2 separate regions of the Homo sapiens genome follow, and region 1 is linked to region 2. Evidence: promoter capture Hi-C in human tissues and cell types (Jung and others, 2019). All regions are on one chromosome and are shown on one strand. The core of a region is centred on a gene start or on the middle of the fragment in contact, and the rest is flanking DNA. Distances in the headings are between cores, read along the strand shown.

What was found. The method cuts DNA at HindIII sites, captures the fragments that hold promoters and counts their contacts. A contact is called where the count stands out against the background at its distance.
Region 1: a fragment that was not itself captured here is called in contact with the fragment with the promoter of APOBEC3B in region 2 in 2 of the 25 tissues and cell types used here (lymphoblastoid cells and spleen).

Annotation. Positions count from the first base shown.
Region 1 is chr22:38,817,837-38,824,276 of GRCh38, forward strand. NPTXR (neuronal pentraxin receptor) reads right to left here. Exons shown (of 5, transcript NM_014293.4): 4 at 5,247-5,426; 5 at 616-4,997. The coding sequence ends at 4,773. Among named protein-coding and RNA genes, the nearest start is that of NPTXR, 23 kb to the right of the region's middle. The HindIII fragment of the contact is 5,623 bases long and covers 1,058-6,440 here.
Region 2 is chr22:38,981,033-38,987,425 of GRCh38, forward strand. It overlaps APOBEC3B (apolipoprotein B mRNA editing enzyme catalytic subunit 3B), which reads left to right and starts at 1,315. Exons shown (of 8, transcript NM_004900.5): 1 at 1,315-1,438; 2 at 3,043-3,199; 3 at 4,780-5,059; 4 at 5,266-5,380. The coding sequence starts at 1,422. RefSeq lists silencers at 1,449-1,498, 5,463-5,658 and enhancers at 3,697-4,896, 3,939-4,228. The HindIII fragment of the contact is 18,696 bases long and covers 1-6,393 here.

The DNA of each region.
Region 1 (6,440 bases), core at 2,619-5,118, 160 kb before region 2:
GCCCCTAAGATGGTGTGTGCAGGGAGGGCTGGGGACTAATCAAGAACCTCTTAAGGATGGGGCAGGTGCTGCAGGGGTGGGGTGGGGTAGCTGACCCTGATGCTGGTCTTAGAGTCCAGTCTAGAGGCCAAACATATCAGAGGAGTCTGGGTAGTGTGGGGAAGGGAGCGGCTGAAATACAACAACCAGGGCCCCTCACCCCGGCACCCCTCCCTAGGACTCCAAGAGATGAAACACTCTGGGGGTCCAGGCAAGTGACTGGGACAGACTAGGTCCCAGGAAACAAGTCAGGGACCCGGATCCCTGAACTAGAGCACAAGATGTGGACGGGGTATTGGGAATGAGGCCGAAGCCCAGTTATCAGAACTGGGACACGTTCCATGTGGGACTTGGGTTCTTTACATCCTTCCTGCATAAATCCTGGGAAATGGGGTGTGTCTAAGCCTGGAACAGGGAGAACTTGTCAGCTGGGGGGCATATTTAGGAGCGTGTGTGGCCCTGGGGCTGTCCAGGATCAGGCGTCTCCTCTGCGCTTCCCTGTGGCCCTGTCCAAAGCAGCCCCCTCCTTCCTGCCCAGCACCCCCTAGGGCAGCCCCATCCCTGCAAAGAAGAGCCTCAGAGTAAACAGCATGTTTATTTTGAACATTCAAGTTTACAAAAACAAAAAGGTAACAAAACCATGACACAGATCACACACACATACACACACACACACACGCACACACACGCACACATGTTGCAGCTCATGTCAATTTATGTACAAAACAGGGAGAGGAGAAAGGGGCAAGGCTGGGGAGGGGTTGTCAGTAGGGTGCACTAATGTCACAGTGTCAGACAACTTGACATGCTCACTCACACTCAGCCTGGGCCCATGTGAGCCCCTTCCCCACCCAGGGGTCGGGGGTCAGGGTGGGAGGTGGGGGTCTGGGGTGGCAGGCAGCTGGAATAAAGGGGTGAAGAGAGTAGTCCCTTCTCTGGGAGGGAGCCCCTTTCCAAGTTTACTCAGGCCAAGGGTGCTGGGACACACAAAGGAGGGGGGACTCAGTGCTGGGGAGAGGCTGCTGCGTCCTAGAGAGGGCTGAATGCAGTCAGAAGGCTGGGCTCAAGTCTCCCGTGTCCAGCTGGGTGGCCTTGAGGGTCGCTCCCCTCCCCGGGCTTCAGCTTCCTCATCTGTAAAATGAGGGCTTTGGCCTCTTCTCAGAGCCCTTCCTGTCCAAATCTGTGGTCCCAGGTGATGCAAAGTGGTGGCAAGGGGATTGGTCCCCTTGGGATGTTGGTGGGGGCACCACATGCCACAAGATGGGAAGATCTGGCAGATAACAGCTGGGAAGCAACTGGTGCAGGGCTTGGCCCCAAGCAAGAGTTGGAGAAGCAGCAATTTCCCTCCCCTTCCCTGCCCAGGACTCGGGAGATGCTCAGCTTCCTTTTCTTTTTTGGCTCTCCTGTGAACTCTAGCTGAGCTAAAGAAGGGCTGAAGCTCTGGCCCATGGTGGGAGGGACACATTCCCTGAAGCAGCTGAGCCCCCTGGCACGGCTTCACCAAGGGGACCCTGGCCCTGGGGCTGGCCCACCCCCTGCCTCTGTTCCTTCACTTCAAGCCCTGTGGGCTGGGAAAGGGGTCGGAACACGTCTGGAGCAATGGTGCCCAGATGGCACTCTACACAGGTGAGTGGGAACTCAGCCCCTGGACGTAACCCCCTTTGGTTTGAAATCTGGGCTCCATCACTTGCTAGCTGATTGACACCAGGCAGATGACATCACCTCTCTGTGCCCCAGTTTCCTCACCTGTCTAACGGAGCCAAGAACGTCCTAACTTAGAACTGTGTTGTGAGATCAACAGGACGGTGCCTGTGCCACACTCAGTGCAGTGCCAGATGGCAGGACAAACACGGGCTCCATCGTGGTTATCAGCCAGGAGCAGCTCAGGATGTGACTGGGCCATGTCTGACTCCTCTTTCCCTGTCTGCTTGGATGTGCTCAGGGGCAGCAGAAGATAGGAAAAGCGGGACCCAAACAGTGGTGCTGGGGAAATTTGTTCCTGTTCCCTTTGGAAGGCTGAGTGGGTGATGCAGCACAGGAACAAGGCTTGGACGTCAGAGGTCTCATCTTCACTGTGACAAAGCATAAAGGACTTGGGGTTGAGCGTGTGTGTGGGCTCAAGTGACCATGCAAGTGCTGTCACCTCCTTCCTAAGACCCCATCCTTCTCCCAAGTCCTCCACAAGAGCTACCTTCTTCAAAACAATAACAGAAACACATCAAGCTTGGCGTCACTGAAATTGAAGTTCTGAATTCTGCCGTCACCCCAGCAACAGTGCCAGTATGATGAGACACTTGACCCAGCACTTGGGTTGATGTCTTTGGCTGTTACCGTGGCAACCTAGGTCTCAGCAGGTCTGGCTGAAGCCCGCCATTGCCTTTTCTTCCAGTGGGATTGTACTGGAGGGGCTGGGCAATCTATTTATGTTCTCGAAATGGAAAGCAGGATCTGGGCGCGGGAGGCAATGCAACTTGGAGTAGCTTCCATGGCACTGAGCCCCCCGGCCTGCAGCTCTTGCATCATGTCTCAGGCTAAGTGGCCTCAGGGAGTGGAGATAGGGAACAAAAAGGCAGGCAAAAGGTACAGTGCCCACTTGAGCCAGGGAGCATGCAGCTGCTCAGACACCTGGTAGGTGACTAGCAGGGGAGGGACACCTCAGCTCTCCATTCTGCCGAAGCGCCCAGGGATCATAACCTCCTCCCCGCACTTCCTGGGGTGGGGATGCCAAGATGTTTGGGTGTTGCATAAAGGAAGATGTTCAGGTGTCATGTTGGAAAGCATCTGACCTCGCGGATGTCTACCTGCTTAGGTGTAGACTGAACTCAAAGGTCTTCAGGGGCAGGCAACATGGAGGGGGAAGAACACTGAAGAGGGAGTCAGATGCCCTGAGCTCTAGTCCTGGCTCTGCCCCATGCTCTGTGATCCTGTGCAGGTCACGTGTCCTCCCTGAACTCTTCCCCATTTCTCACAAGCAAGATGCAGCTGTGGTGCCAGATGGGGTGGCTTTTCTCATCTTTAAGATTATTATTATTTTTTTGAGATGGAGTCTTGCTCTGTTGCCCAGGCTGGAGTGCAATGGCGTGATCTCGGCTCACTGCAACCTCCACCTCCTCAGTTCAAGAGATTCTTCTGCCTCGGCCTCCCGAGTAGCTGGGACTACAGGCATGCACCACCTAACCAGCTAAGTTTTGTATTTTTAGTGAAGATGGGGTTTCACCACGTTGGCCAGGCTGACTTCGAACTCCTGACCTCAAGTGATCTGCCTGTCTCAGCCTCCCAAAGTGCTGGGATTACAGGCGTGAGCCACCGTGCCCGGCCTCTCAGCTCTTAAGATTCTGACACTCTCTTGGGGAAGCTGGTGATGACTCAAGGGGACCAGGAAGCCATCAGCCCTTTGAGACACTCTCAGACAGGCAAGGGTGCCAGGCTGGGTTGATCCAAAGGGAGCTGGTTTTTTACAATCCATGCATGAGGTTAGTCTGCCTTGAACCTTGCCCTGGACTCTGAGTCTCTGCTGACCCTAACCCATGACTGGCTGCATCCCATCCACTGCCGAGTCCTGGGATCTACCCCTGCGAAGCCCAGGGTCACCAGAGCTTTCCCCACATATCCACCTGGAATCACAGAGAAGCTCACACCCAATCTGGAGAGCAAATGACCAAAGCGAGGGCCTCAGCTCACGAATGAGGAAGGCCAGGCCCAGAGAGGGCAGGGACTTACAGAAGGCCACACAGCACATTAGCAGGGCTGGCTAGGAACCAAGGTCTTCTCCCTCTCACCCAGTGCTCTGCTCACTGCTTCATGCTTCTCCCCACCCTCTGAGCTTCTTCCTTGCTGCCCCAGGACCATGCACAGGGTAGGTAATGTGGCTCTGCCAGAGGTGGGGTCTCCTGGGCCATGAGGCCTCTACCTTAGGGCTGCTCCCAGCCCAGGCTGAAGCGGTCCAAGTCCTGTCCTTGGCATGGAGGGAGAGCGATGACTATACCAGTGGCCATCACTATGGGTGAGCACAAGGGGTGACTGCAGCCCTTTGGCCTCCTGGGGTCTTTGTCCCCTTCCCTCCAGGCTGGAGCTGGGAAAGGAATGTCCTGGAGACTGAGGTGGGGCTGGGCCAGGCATGGAACCAACATTCAAACCGCTACACACAAAGAGAGGAGGAAAGAGGAGGAAGAGGGAGGCATGGGTGGGGGGGGGGGGAGGCTCCATCGAGATCCCACTGCCCTTGACTGGCAGCTGGTGGAAAGAGGGAGGAGGGTAAGTCTAACCTCTGATGTCCTCGTCATCCCCTTCTACAGCCTGTTGTGGCCCTGAAGGGGAAGCCACTGGGCCTGTTGCATGGGGGACAAGGGGGCGGGCGGCCACCCCCACCACTGAGATAGTGGGGTCCCCCTCATACACAATCCTACCCTACTGGGGGTGCTGTCAAAATTAGTGAAATCAGATACAGTTGATGGGCAGGGAGGGTGGGGTAAGAGACAACTCCAGTGCAGTGCCAGGTGGGCAGGCTCCCACTGTTCACTTGAGACGCTCCTCCCCACTCAGGTGGGGACAGGGGACACACTCGCAGGGCAGGGCATTCTGGAGGTGTGGGTACAGGTGAGGGGAAATGGGAGGCACAGCCAGGAGTGGGGCAGGAGGGAAGGCCAGTGCGTGGGCAGGCTGAGGAGGGAATATGACCCCCCTCAAGTCCCCAAAGTGGCAGGCAAGGGAGGGGCCCTGGATGAGGTGGCCCCTCATGCCTTGGCCCTCCCCTTGCAGACATCGAAGGCAGCCTTTGTTGCACCCCCAAAGGCCTCCACCAACTTGTCTTCCCAGGGAAGGACGTTGCCCAGCAGTGGCGCAGTGCAGTTGGCAATGCCCAGGACCTGGGCTGGTGTCAGGGCGTGGTCCCACAGGTTAAACTGGGCAATGTCACCGACAAAGGCCTGGGTGGCATCAAACCGGCCACCCAGGGTATCCTGGGCCAAGACAGCAGCAGAGAAAGGAGAGGCATGGAGTGAGGGAGCAGAAAAGACAGGCAGGCTGGCTCAGTCAGGCTCTTGTCCCCGAGGCAGCCCCACCTTCAACCCCACTGAAGCCCCACCGCCAACGCTCTAGCCCCACCTTCAAGATTCTAGTTCCTTGGGCAGGTCTCTGATCTCTCTGGCCCTCAGTCTGCCCATCTGCACAATTAGGAGGTCCAGCCCCAATATCAGCCTGAGCCTTACCTGCTCCTGGCCCAAGATAAGGATCCCATGAGGCTTGATGGGGTGCCAGGCAGCCAGGTTCTCACCGGAGCCCTGCAGCTCCCCGTCCTGGTAGGCAGACCATAGGCCATCCCTTGTGGTCCAGGCGATGCAGATGTGGTGCCAGCCATTGTCCTTCAGGCTCAGGGGCAGCTGGGCCACCTGGACACAGGTCCCCCAACCCCAGGTCAGAGGTGCCCCAAGGCCCAAGGCCCATGGCTGAGGCAGTGGGGTGGGGCTGGGGAGACCCATGTCCATCCTTCCAGGGCCCGACCCCAGGCCTGACCCTCTCCATCCTCCTGCCCAGTGTCTTTCCCTGACTCCTGTCTCCTCTTTCCTCAAAGACCAAACCAGATCACAAGGGACTCTCTGGTTTTGGTTTTCAGTTGTCACAAGGTAGTTCACTCACTCTCCAACAGGCCTATTAAGGTCACTTGGGGAGAGAGGGATGTCTCATAATCCCAACTTCCCCTGAACACCTCACACAGCACTCAGCACACAGCTAGGGCTCAAGAAGTACTGGCAGGGATAGAATGAGCCTTGGACTCAGAGGCCAGGCTCCAGCATCTGGCCCTGGCTCTGCCACCAACCCCTGTGTGATCTGGGGAGGCTGCTCCTTCCTCCCTGGGCCTCAGTTTCCTTATCTGTAAAGTGAGGTCAGACAAGGGATGACAAGTCTGCAAGGGATGGCAAATCTTCCTCCACCCAGGGCAGACATAGCCAATCAATCACGAGCCTCGATTTAGCTCAGATCCCTCAGCACAGTGCTCTGGAAAGCCACTGCTGATGGGTTAGAGCTGGCCTGTAAGATGAAAGGTGCTTGCTGTCTGTGGATTTGGTGCTCCCAAAGGGCTTCCTCATCTGGTAAGTTTCCTGAGGTCACATTTTTTTTTTTGAGATGGAATTTCACTATGTTGCCCAGGATAGAGTGCAGTGGTGTGATCTCAGCTCACCACAGCCTCCATCTCCTGGTTCAAGCAATTCTCCTCCCTCAGCCTCCCAAGTAGCTGGGATTACAGGCGTGCACCACCATGCCCAGCTATTTTTTTTTTTTTTTTTTTGTATTTTTAGTAGAAACGGCGGGATTTCACCATATTGGCCAGCCTGGTCTTGAACTCCTGACCTCAGATGATCCACCCACCTCAGCCTCTCAGAGTGCTGGGATTACAGGCAAGA
Region 2 (6,393 bases), core at 65-2,564:
ATAAACGGAACTGTTTATTTTCCACCGATGGTCTTATCCTTTGTCCATCTCTTTCTGACGGCAACAGAAAACTTCACCTTCCAGAGGAGCGCCTCTGCCTGGCTGTCCCACCGTCTGGGAAGTAAGGAGCGCCTCTGCCCAGCCCCCGCACCGTCTGGGAAGTGAGGAGCGCCTCTGGACGGCCCCCGCACCGTCTGGGAAGTGAGGAGCGCTTCTGGACGGCTCCCAGCAACCCCCCAGGTGTGAAGTGACAGCCCTGTGTGTGATCTTTCTGCCCTCCCCAAGTTTGCATTTTCGACAATAAAATTTACTTTTAAATTAAAAGATTTATACTGGGGAAGATTTAAAAAAAAAAAAAGAAAGAAAAGAAAACTCACCTTCCAAAAACAACCACTGGGAGTCCGCTTTGTGCAGAGGTTGGACAAGCTTCTGTGCAGGTAGGGGCGCTGCTGCTCCCCCTACCACCCACGCATCCTCCTCCCTGTCTGCATTCCCGTCGTCGTAGCCAGAGGAGTTCAGAGCCTCTACAGAGAGCACAACTTCTCCAGCTGGAACAAACTCCCCTTAAAGGAATCTATTTAGGAAGATTATTTCAATGTACATTCATTCCTCCAAAATATGCTTAGATGGACTTAAATAATCAGAAAGCTGTGTGTGTATGTGTTTCCCGTTTTCTTGGCCCACAAAGAACCCCTTGAGAGGTCCCTGGGCAGTGAGCCTGTTTATAGACACCCTTCTCCCTTCCTTGGTGTCGCAGACATCGCAGTCCCTCTGAGGGGCTGACCTGCCCCCCACCTTCTGGAAGCTGGGAGGTTGGAAGAGGGGACGCATGCCATGGACCCAGCACACAGCTGGGAACTCGAGGCACACCTAAGCCTTCCCTTGTGCTGTGCGGAGTCCACACTTCCTTCCCCACTGGAGTCTCAAAACCTCCCCTCACTCAACAGGGTGGTGCTGCTCAAAGCTCTGGGCACACATTAGGGCTGGGGAGGGGGTGGTGGAGAGGGGGCTCCAGCCTGCCCAACCACCAGGCAACGGGGCACCTGCCCCTCTCTCAGCTGGGTCTGGACCCGCCTCCCAGGCTCAGGCTGCAATGCCTTTCTCTTTCTCTTTGCAATTCCGTTGGGTCCTGCCCAGGACAGATAAAGACAGAGCAGCCTGTCTTTATTGGAGGTTCCTCTGCCAGCGGGAAGGGTCCGGGGAAAACCAGAGCCAGAGCCAGAGCCAGAGAAACATGAAGCACCCCGGGGCCTCCCACACCAATGCCTGAGCAGGAATGGGGAGGGGCCATGACTCATAAGGCCCTGGGAGGTCACTTTAAGGAGGGCTGTCCAACTGCAAGGACGCTGTAAGCAGGAAGTGAAACCACAGAGCTTCAAAAAAAGAGCGGGACAGGGACAAGCGTATCTAAGAGGCTGAACATGAATCCACAGATCAGGTACCGCTGCCCACTCTGCCTGCTGGGCCCCTCCTGCCCCTTCCTGCCTGGTGGTCCTGCTGGGCCTCAACCCTGGCCTCCCCCCGCCCCTGCCCCAGCCCTGGGCTCCCTCCCCTCTGGCTCCCCTGCCACACGAATCCCAGTCAGGCTCTTTGTCCTGCTGTGTGGTCACCCCACTGCTGCTTCTGAATGGGCTGCCTCCCCTACCTGCACCAGCCCAGGCCCCGTGCTGAGACTCTCCCTTAAAGTCATGCCCGGACTGGTGCTCCCCGCCCTGGGAGGGTGCTCCCTCTGTGTGCTTCCTGCCACTCCTGAGCTCAGAAACTGGGAGAATTGAACCAAAGGGTAATTGGAGCAATCAGGCATTTTTGTTCTCAGTGTTTTGATGAAATTTCTGTAAGAATTACTTTGCTTAAATACAAAGTCTTAGGAGAGGGTGCGGGGGTAGGAATGGTCTCTGAAGCACATGATAAATCGTGTCATCCAAGGATGACTCCATGGTGAGCAGATGTCCCCAGACAGGTTCCACTCCAAGGTCACTCTTCATCTTTTAGAACATGACCAGTGGTTGAGCGTGGTGGCTCACACTTGTAATCCCAACACTTTGGGAGGCCAAGGCGGGCGGATCATGAGGTCGGGAGTTTGAGACCAACCTGGCCCATATGGTGAAACCCCGTCTCTACTAAAAAACATACAAAAATTAGCCAGGCATGGTGGCGCATCTCTAGTCCCAGATACTCAGGAGGTTTAGGCAGGAGAATTGCTTGAACCTGGGAGGTGGAGGTTGCAGTGAGCTGAGATCATGCCACTGCACTCCAGCCTGGGCGACAGAGTGAGACTTCATCAAAAAAAAAAAGAAAGAACATGATCAGTAACATGGAATGTGAGAATGTGGGAAAAAAGTGCAATGATGAGGAGAAATGCTCTGATTTTAAAATTTAGTGAAAAGAGAGCCCAGTCCCCAACAGCTTTCTCCTACAGGATCCGTGATGCAGAGGCTGGACAGGGCTGGCCTGGAAAGGGGCCCCTGCTCCATCCGTCCCCAGCTCTGTGGCCTCGGCAGGTTACCCCGCCTCTCTGTGCCTCTGGCATCTCCTCTGTAAGATGGGAATGGCCCCTGCAGGCCTAGGGTAGCCTCACGTGAGCTCACACCCGCTCAGCACTTAGAAGAGTGGCCTGGGCCTCAGAATTCAGTTCTACCATGATTTTAAAATAATGTTAACACGCAGAGTGAAACATCAGGAAGGAATTGAGCTGAAAGGTTAAAAGCTATTTTTTAGGGGTGAAGGGTTTTATTCTCTTTTGCATTCTCCTAATGGGTTGGGGAGTGGGTTGGCAGAAATACTAGGAGGGTGGGGAATGTACCCCTGGAAAGGCCAGAGTTGGACCCGAGCTGGGAGAGATCACCCCAGCCCGCCTGCCAGCATCCCCTCCTCTTCCTCTCCCCTCAGTCTTCCTGCCTGGGAAGGCAGCAGAAATTCTCAGGGCTGTGGAGGGGTCGGGGAGGCCCAGGGCCATCCTGGGAGCTGTGTTCAGTGGACATGAGCCCCGAGGACTCCCGGGAGGGCTCCCTGCATGGGCCGGTTTCTCTCTTGTGCCTTCAGAAATCCGATGGAGCGGATGTATCGAGACACATTCTACGACAACTTTGAAAACGAACCCATCCTCTATGGTCGGAGCTACACTTGGCTGTGCTATGAAGTGAAAATAAAGAGGGGCCGCTCAAATCTCCTTTGGGACACAGGGGTCTTTCGAGGCCAGGTACCACCCAAACTTCAATCGAATCACAGGCAGTGTTGCAGGAATTAGAGGACTGGAGAGACTGATATGGGTGAGACAGGAGGATTTATTTAGGTGCACTGGTTCAGCAGACTCACATCCAAAAAGGCTGAGCCCTTAACAAAGACAGACTGAGGTATTTATAAGCAAACTTACAGAAGCAGAACAAAGGCGATTAATCAAACAGTGACAGGTCACATAATCTATAGCATAACAGATGACTTAGCATAACTTGGGGCCTTCTATAGCTGGTGGCCTTGCAGCTACATCAAAAGGAAAACAGGAACTGGCTAAATACAGACATTTGTAAAATATAGTTATAATGGTTCTGGAAAGGAGAGACAGTAAAGGAATTTGTCTTTTTTTTAAAAAATTTTTTTAAAATTTTCTTCAACCTTGCCCTGGAGGGGTGTGGGGGTGGTGTCTGGAGCCCATTCCTTTGGCCTTGACTTTTCAGGCAGTGTTATAACTGTCGTTGGAGTGAGCTGGCTAGGCAGAGGAAAACTTGTTCTTCTTTTCTTTTTAACCCTTGCTACAGTAGGACCTAAGCAGCTGGAAATGCAGAAAACACAACAATAAGTAAAATGCCCAGCACTGGGCTCTCAATTGTGTATTTTTCCCACATTTCTTTTTTCTCTTTTTTTCCTTTTTTTTTTTTTTTTTTTTTTCCGAGATGGAGTCTCGCTCTGGCACCCAGGTTGGAGTGCAATTGCACAATCTTGGCTCACTACAACCTCCACCTCTCAGGTTCAAGTGATTCTTCGGCCTTAGCCTCCCGAATAGCTGGGATTACAGAAGGCTGCCACCACGCCCAGTTAATTTTTTCTATTTTTAGTTGAGACTGGGTTTCACCATGTTGGCCAGGCTGGGGAATTCCTGACCTCAGGTGAGTCACCTGCCTTGGCCTCCCAAAGTGCTGGGGTTACAAGCATGAGTCACCGCACCTGGCCACTTCCCACAGTTCTGTTTTTTTGTTTTGTTTTGTTTTGGTTTTTTTTTAAGACTGAGTTTCACTCTTTGTTGCCTGGGCTGGAGTGCAATGACTCACTCTCAACTTCCACCTGCCAGGTTCAAGTGATTCTCCTGCCTCAGCCTGTGAGCTGAACAGTCACATGAGGGTGAAGGTTGTTGCCACAAGCTCAGGGGATGCTCCAGACAGAGTGGCCTGGGATGTCGAGTCACAGCTGCTCCATGCCACGGGGACAAGAGGAAGCAGGAGTTTAGTCTGACACACTGCCCTTCCAGATAGAGGGCAAGAGACAGAAAGAGGGGCTGAAGTCACCCTTGAATAACCACAGCAGTGGCACCCACAAAGGTGCAGTCCCCACAGCCTCATAGCCTCTTCTAGGTGCCACCTCTTAAGGCCATTACAATAGCCATTAACACTGAACGTGAGCTTTGGAGCAGACAATCACTCAAACTAAACAGGGGGGATGGAGGAAAGGAGCTTCAATGGCAAGATCCCCTGGGCTCCTGTCCTGGCCCCTCCTCTCCCTGCCCCACCCCTGCACTCCTCCTGCTCCCCCTCTCAGAGCATCCCCTGCCCCCTGCTCCTCTCCCAGGTGTATTTCAAGCCTCAGTACCACGCAGAAATGTGCTTCCTCTCTTGGTTCTGTGGCAACCAGCTGCCTGCTTACAAGTGTTTCCAGATCACCTGGTTTGTATCCTGGACCCCCTGCCCGGACTGTGTGGCGAAGCTGGCCGAATTCCTGTCTGAGCACCCCAATGTCACCCTGACCATCTCTGCCGCCCGCCTCTACTACTACTGGGAAAGAGATTACCGAAGGGCGCTCTGCAGGCTGAGTCAGGCAGGAGCCCGCGTGACGATCATGGACTATGAAGGTGAGAGGTGGAGGGGTCAGGGGAGCGTGAGCGGGAGGAACAGCATGAAAGATGGATGGATCTGCAATGCCATGGCTGGGGGTGTCCCAGGGCAGCCTGCAGGGGTGGGACTGGCACTGACTGCAACTGACAGCCAGGAGACCAGGCCTGGGAGGACAGGCCAGGGTCAGGGGAGAGCCTGACTGCTTCCCGCTTCTTCATCTCAGAATTTGCATACTGCTGGGAAAACTTTGTGTACAATGAAGGTCAGCAATTCATGCCTTGGTACAAATTCGATGAAAATTATGCATTCCTGCACCGCACGCTAAAGGAGATTCTCAGGTGAGGGTCTCCCTCTGGCCTCATCATCTCTCTCCTCTCACCTGCTCATCCTCCTGAGGCCTCCGTTGGCCTGGCCCTCCCGCCCTCCCTCTTGACCCACTGCCTGCCCTCATGGTCACACCACCTTCCCTTAACTCCTGGTGCTCCCTCCACACTGCCTCCTCCCTGCTTTCCTGGGCCCTTCCTGTGAGTAAGAGGCCCCTTCTGCCTCTAAGGCACCTGGGTCTTGGACTAGAGGAACAAACAGCAAGACAGGGTGGCCTGGGACACCAGCCGCTGCCCTTCTGTGACATGGGGACAAGAGGAGGCAAGAGCTCAGCCTTCCAGGGAACAACTCTGGGCAGGAGATGTGGAAGGAAGGAGCTCAGTGTGGGGGCACCCATGGCATCCTGGGGGGACATCTGAGGGCCACCCCCACCCGCTATTCCTCCCTCCAATGGTGGCCTCTGAGTGTGAAGGCATGGGGGAAGGCAGACACCTGCCCCTGACTCTCCCTCACTACCACATAGCTGCTGGGTGGCTGGGGACGGGGGGGGTCCCTGGGATGATTCCTGAGGGCAGGATCCAGGGGTCCCTCCAGATGTCCTCCCATCCAGGTGAGAAAGCAGCATAAAGTGAGGCTTGCACTCAGATGGGCCTGGGAGGTCACTCACAGCGCAGGTGTCTCCTGGAACAAGGGCCCTGGAAGATAGAAATAGAATCCAAACCCAGGACTAACATCAGGGCCAAGACAAGCCTGCCAGGGAGGCTGCACATGAAGCCCCAGATCAGGGACCACTGCCCGCTCTGCCCATGGGGCCTCTGCTGCCCTTTCCTGCCTGGTGGTCCTGCTGGGCCTCAGCCCTGGCCTCCCCCTGTCCCAGCCCCAGCCCTGGGCTCTCTCCCCTCCTGTTCCTCTGCCACCCCCACTCCCAGCCAGGCTCTTTGCCCTGTTGTGTGGTCGCCCCACTGCTGCTTCTGAATGGGCCACCTCCCCCACCTGCCCCAGGCCAGACCCCCTGCTGAGACTCTTC